2 separate regions of the Homo sapiens genome follow, and region 2 is linked to region 1. The links are contacts of gene promoters, found by promoter capture Hi-C in blood cells and fetal thymus (Javierre and others, 2016). All regions are on one chromosome and are shown on one strand. The core of a region is centred on a gene start or on the middle of the fragment in contact, and the rest is flanking DNA. Distances in the headings are between cores, read along the strand shown.

Region 1 (3,450 bases), core at 23-2,522:
AGGGCCCTCAGGGATCAGGCCCCTCCACCTTCCCATTCCCCGAGGCCCTTTAACCTCCAGCTCCCCCTCCCTCCTCTGGACCAGAGGTACCCCTCCCCATTCTTAACTTGGGTATCTGTGAACCTGGATGGAAAAACGTCTTTATTTACCCCAACAACTCCAACTGAAGTCCAGCATTCATTCCTTTGGGGGTGCAGTTGACCCCAGCCAGCAGGGCCTGTGGCTCCACGGCCAGCAGAAGCAGTGTTTACATCCCCATGTTACCGCCCTCACCGAAGGTGTCTCCAGTGGCAGCCCTCTGCACAGGGCTGCTGCGAAGTGTCCACTGGTATCAGACGACAGACCGACCAGAACCTGCCATTAACATGCTGATAAAGAAGCCCATAGGCCACGCTGTCATGAATTGTTTCATGTATTTTGATAACTGTGTTTTGATAGAATTGTTCCCCTTTGTGACCCCATGGTCTTTGTTTTATGCGTTTAAATCTACTTGACGACATCGTTCTGAAAAGGACACCCAGGCTTCGCCAGGCAGCCCAGGGTACTAGGAACACACACAGTGTGAAGACCGCAGCTCCAGGCTGTGCGCGCGGCGTTATCTCCTGCTGCCCCGACCTGCTTTTGCTTGGGAGCCTCTGCCCAGGTCACGGCCAGCTCCCGCTTCCCATCCTTCCTCTTCAGGCTTGACATTCACCTCCAAGGGGGGTTCTGCCTTCTCTCACAACTCCGCAGCCTTCACCCCATCAGCTGACGCACTGTCACCAGATTCTGACTCTCGTGATGGGACCTGGGTCTGAAGGGGCCCTGCAGAAAATGCAGGAGCAATGATGAGAATGGAAACAGCTTCCGGTTCCGTGGACAGCGAGGACTCGGGAACACTGCTCAGCCATGGCCTCTGTGGTTCTTCCAACGACCCTATGAGGTTGAGAAATGCTGTCAATTCCCCTTTCCTGGAGGAGGAAACTGAGGCACAGAGGAGACTGGACACGGACAGACCCCTCCAGAGCGGGGAGAACGCATCCCCCAACGTTTCTGGGATAGGCTGGGCCCGGGGGTCCCCACCAGAAAGGACCCCTGCGTGTCTGTAGCCTCGGGTTTTCTCGACCAGGCCGACCAGAGTCCCAAGGCCTGCCGGGTGGGTCCAGGCCCGGAAGGCCAGGCGGGGCCCTGTCGGGGCCTGGGCGGGGCTGGCGGAGGGGCCGGGCCGCCCCTTCCAGCGAGGGCGGGCTGGGCGGTCGCCTTTAAAGGCGCGGGACCCGCCGCCCGCGGACCGTCAGGCTGGAGGGAGCTGGTCCCTGCGCTCCCTGCGCCCTGGGGATGCCCCTGCCGCCCTGACGCCCGCCAGCCTGAGCCACCGGCGCATGTGACCGCGCGTCCGCCCCAGTCCCATCCGTAGGCGCCCGGCGCCCGGCCCCGCAGCGGCCTCGTTGTCCCCGCCGGCCCCCGCCCGGTCTCCCGCGCTGCCACCCGCCGCCGGCCCTGCCGCCATGCAGGCGCGAGCGCTGCTCCTGGCCGCGTTGGCCGCGCTGGCGCTGGCCCGGGAGCCCCCTGCGGCGCCGTGTCCCGCGCGCTGCGACGTGTCGCGGTGTCCCAGCCCCCGCTGCCCCGGCGGCTACGTGCCCGACCTCTGCAACTGCTGCCTGGTGTGCGCCGCCAGCGAGGGCGAGCCCTGTGGCGGCCCTCTGGACTCGCCTTGCGGCGAGAGCCTGGAGTGCGTGCGCGGCCTATGCCGCTGCCGCTGGTCGCACGCCGTGTGTGGCACCGACGGGCACACCTATGCCAACGTGTGCGCGCTGCAGGCGGCCAGCCGCCGCGCGCTGCAGCTCTCCGGGACGCCCGTGCGCCAGCTGCAGAAGGGCGCCTGCCCGTTGGGTAAGCGCTCGGGGGCCAGGGAGGAAGTGAAGCTTCTTTCTCTTGGGGAAACTAAGGCCGGGAGTTAGGGCCGAGCTCGAGGTCGCCCTTCCCTGGGCACCACCGGGTGGCCCTTCAGAAATCATCCCACCAGCCCTCTGGTCTTTCAGATGAAGAAACTGAGGCCCGGAAAGGTAAACCGCTGTCCCCAAGGTCACAGAATTAGAGTCAAAAGGGAAACCCGGTGGTCTCCTGGCCACCCGAGGGGCCTCATCTAGGACTGTTTCCAGCTCTGGTCTCTTCAGAACTGATGTCTCGTGCCCATTCCCTTGATCCTTGGACCCCTGCTCTGTCCGGGTATTGAGTGAAGGGCACTCTTTCCTGCCCTAACTCTCCAGCCGGGGTGCCCTCTTGGGTGATGCCTTCTTTCCTGGAGACTGTGGTTAAGTGCATGTCTCCACAGGACTGTGTGGGAAGGGTCAGGGTGCAGGTCCCTGAACTGCTTAGGGCGCCCCAGGGAGAGGCTGCTTGGGGGAGAGAATGTCGGGGTCAGACCCTAGAACAGCCTCCCTTGAGGCAGTCGGCTCTAGGTTGCATCTCACCGTGCAGGTTGACTCTGTACGTGGAGGAAAATGCTGGAAAACCTGCTGTACCTTTTTCCCTGTTTGGGGTGCCTCTTAGGAAAGCAGACTCTGCTGTGGCCGGACAGGGGTTCACTGAAGACAGGCGACGGGCCCCAGGTTCATGGATAGGAGTCAGGGTCCTGCGTGCCATCAGCTTGCAGGTGGCAGGGAGAGATGCAGTAGCTGCCAGAACAGGCTCCGTGGAGCCTCAGGAGCACCATGGGGAGCACCAACTGCCGGGGCTCCTGGGAAGCCTGCAGAGGGCTTCCTCATTTTTTCTGCGGTCCGCTGAACACAATTCCAAGTGTTTTCATGGTGTAAAAAGGTTGGGGAACTGAGCGCTCTATTCCTGTAGTGGAGACTCACAGGCTCAATCTATCAGAGGTTCTGAGAAAACCTGCAGTGTCCTCAATTGATGAAACCCAGGGCTTCCCCAGAGAATTTCAACAGAGAGCTCTTCTTTTCTGGCAGAACACGTGACCTCCTCCCAGCACGCTGGGGTTCCTGGGAGCCCCGTGTGGGAAGCATCATTCGAGATTAGCTAGGATTATGTGGAAGAGCCACCGCAGGGTTTGGCGGGGAGTCCCAGTCCACCTTGTGCTGGTACAACGCCTGAGACTGGGCAGTTTATACAGGACAGAGATGTATTTCTCGCAGCTCTGGAGGCTGGAAAGTTCAAGACCAAGGTGCCAGCAGGCTTGGTTGTCTGGTGAGGGCTGCACTCTGCGGAAGGGAGGAAGCTGCGTCTTCACACGGCAGAAGTGCAGGCAGGGACAAGGCCGAACGCTGCCTGTAGCCTCTCTCATAAGGAGCTTCTGCCCACGCTCGAAAGGAGGAACCCTTGTGACCTCATCACCTCCTAACACCCCACCTTTTCATACCATCACATTGGCAACACCTCTGTTTTGGAGGGAACATGTTCAAACCATCATGGGGGTGAGGGTGATGAGGTCCGGCTTGTGTTGAGACTGCCCAG
Region 2 (3,031 bases), core at 416-2,915, 120 kb after region 1:
TAGGCAGGAAAACGGGCACTGACGGGCAGTGAATTCTCTTGCTCGGAATGCGGCTGCTGGCGGCCTGAGGACACACCCAGCGTCAACAACCTCTGTCCTCAAGACTCTCCCAGAATCCTGGGTCACCACGGCCTTTCCATGTGCCTCACACCAGAAGGACTCTCGAAGGTGCCCCCAGCCGCCCTGTGCACCCAATGACTGCCCCTCGATCTGCCCCCTCCCCAGCTGGGGCTCTGTCCTTGACCCCATGGTGAGCTCTTCGCATGCACTGCCTGCCTTTCGGGTCTCGGTTTCCTCTCCCGTCTCTGGGTCCAGTCCCCTCTGCGTCAGCATCAGAGCACTCCTAACTCGGATTCTGACCCAGGCAAGCCCTGGAAAGCAAGGCCTGGACAGCGGCCCCAACTCCTCAGCCAGATCACAGGCCCGGGTCTGACCATGCCCGCCGCTCTGGTGCTCCTGAATGGCCGGTGCTCCCCAAAAGCACAACGCACGGACCCTCTGAGACACCCTCAGGTGCCAGTTTTGTGGGAGACATTCCCTGACCCACCAAGGCAGACCTCACCTGCATCTGTTGTTTCCAAGGAAGTGTTCAGGACTGTGGCCCCCCACACGCAGCAGCCCCCCACCGAGGGCACCATGGCCTGGCCCCTGCCAGGTGGCATGGGGTGACCGCATTCCCTCCCCACTGTCTCGCAGAAGGAAAACAGGCTCAGAGAGATTAAAGCCTAGCTCAAGGTCACAGCGGGGGGCAGTGCTGACCCAATAGCCTGTGCTCCCACCCTCTGGGAGCACTGTCTGCACCACGAACCCCACTGCTCACCTCATATGACCCCACTGCCCACCTCACATGACCTCACCATGCACTCCACGTGACCTCACCGCTCCCCCACGTGACTCCACCGCTCACCTGTGACCTCACTGCTCACCTCACATGACCTCACTGTGCACTCCACGTGACCTCACCACTCACCCCATGTGACCCCACTGCTCACACATGACCCTATGTCACCTCTGGCCCACATCCCATGACCTTGCAGTCCACAAATACACACGTGTCCGAGTAGTGAACACTGCAACTGCTTACTATGAATGCATACGAGCCAGCTAAACAACAGGGCCCACTGCAGGAAGCAACAGCACAGGCCCCCAAGGCACAGGGCTGTGACACTCAGCTCAGTGCAAAAATGCCTGTGCAAAAATCAGAGGAACTCAACAGAAAACCCAGCCTCCCCTACCCAAGTCAGAATCGAACCCCTGAAGGACCCGCCATTGGCTTGGCAAATCCTCCACCCTTCCTCACAGGCAAGCGCAACCCCGGAAGGGGCCTGTGTCTCTCCAGTCCTGCAGAGCCTGAGGGCCCCACATCACTTAAACAGCTTTTACCAAAGATCCACATGACGCAGGCTGCAGTCAGCCCTGAGACCTGGGATCTGTGACCAAATGCCCTTGAGACGATGGGGCTGGCAGAACCCACAAGCTTCCCTGCGGCGTGAGGGATAATGGCGGTCTCTCTCCCATACCACTTTGAACAAGTGAAAGCCATTTGCCTTTGTTACTCCGGAAAACGTTTTCACTTTGTTGCATCTTGTAAATATTAGAGCAGTTGCAGAAAAGCAGATGACTTTGGTGTCTTTCCTGATGATGGAGAGACTGTAAAATTGCTTTTGCTTTCAGTCTCAGGGGAAGGGGAGGGAAGAGCAGAGCGTGATGGGCACATGGAGAAGCTGGCTGTCCCATTTATGTTTTGATTTTATTAATATAAGGAGTGATGGTTTTAGGAAAAAGGTATTGGTTGGGTTGAAGTTACCACAATGATTAGGTCATTTTCTAGTTCTTTCTGTGGCAACATTTGGGAAGCTTAGAAAGTGACTTGCGGCCGGGCGTGGTGGCTCATGCCTGTGATCCCAGCACTTCGGGAGGCCAAGGTGGGCGGATCACGAGGTCAGGATATCGAGACCATCCTGCCTAACACGGTGAAACTCCGTCTCTACTAAAAATACAAAAAATTAGCCGGGTGTGGTTGTGGGCTCCTGTAGTCCCAGCTACTCCGGAGGCTGAGGCAGGAGAATGGCGAGAACCTGGGAGGTGGAGCTTGCAGTGAGCCGAGATCATACCACTGCACTCCAGCCTGGGCGACAGAGCGAGACTCCGTCTCAAAAAAAAAAAAAAAAAGAAAGTGACTTGCAAACATCAGAAATAGGTCATCAAACGTGTCCCCGTTTCCCACTGGCACCCAAAAAGGCAGGCTAAGATCTGCACGGTTAGTTACCGTCAGAAGCTGTAACCCAGCGCAGTGACCACGAGAAAGCAAGCAGTGATGCAGACGCTTCCTGATGACGATGCTGACGGTGCGGGCAGGGGAAGGCGCTGGGAAGCCGGACCGGCCCAGGCTCCACACCGGCTTCGGCCACGGCTGTTGTCCTGTTCTTTGCCGTGTGAACAAGGAAGTAGCCTGTAGGGCTGGAGACGGACAAGGACACACGCTCGGGGGCTGCTATCACATCCACGGCGTCGGTCCTGATGGCTGGAACGCGTCCTCCATGTGTGCCTGTCCCCTGCATGAGGGAGGCCAGTGCTCCCTCCTCCCGAGGATCCAGGGGCCTCCCAGAACCCCAGGGAAGCCTCACATTCTGGTCTCCTGAATGCAAAGCCAAGAGCATCCTCCATCTCCAAGTCCCCGCTCTATCTGCCCAGTTGAACGTGTGGCACCTCGAGGGCGGTTCCTGTCCAAACTCTGTGGCTGCTGAGCTGAGCACTGATGTGGCGCCAAGTGCTGCACTAAGTGCTTTACGTGCATGAACTCAGTCCACGGTACAAACACCTTATGAAGGGGGTACCATCCCCGTCCCCGTGCTGCAGATGAGGAAACCGAGGCAGGAAGGCTGAGGGACTTGGTGTAGGTTCCACGGCCAGCAGGAGGAGGGACCGGGATCAACCCCGGCAGCCTGGCGGGAGCTGACGTCTCTCTCACTCAGGAAGGTGGGCTACTCTTCCACGTCTCGGGTGTCACGGGAGCAGTCAGTTTCTACCT

Evidence for each region. Contacts are between HindIII fragments. The CHiCAGO score rates a contact against its expected background, and 5 or more counts as called.
Region 2: a contact is called between a fragment that was not itself captured here and the fragment with the promoter of HTRA3 in region 1, in 6 of 17 cell types (endothelial precursors, M0 macrophages, M1 macrophages and 3 more). The highest score is 12.6, in endothelial precursors.

Annotation. Positions count from the first base shown.
Region 1 is chr4:8,268,482-8,271,931 of GRCh38, forward strand. HTRA3 (HtrA serine peptidase 3) reads left to right here and starts at 1,273. Exons shown (of 9, transcript NM_053044.5): 1 at 1,273-1,872. The coding sequence starts at 1,488. It overlaps LOC105374373 (a long non-coding RNA gene), which reads right to left and starts at 1,700. Exons shown (of 2, transcript XR_001741572.2): 1 at 1,626-1,700; 2 at 125-915. The HindIII fragment of the contact is 2,501 bases long and covers 1-1,902 here.
Region 2 is chr4:8,384,411-8,387,441 of GRCh38, forward strand. The region is part of intron 13 of ACOX3 (acyl-CoA oxidase 3, pristanoyl); the gene reads right to left. Among named protein-coding and RNA genes, the nearest start is that of ACOX3, 55 kb to the right of the region's middle. The HindIII fragment of the contact is 380 bases long and covers 1,476-1,855 here.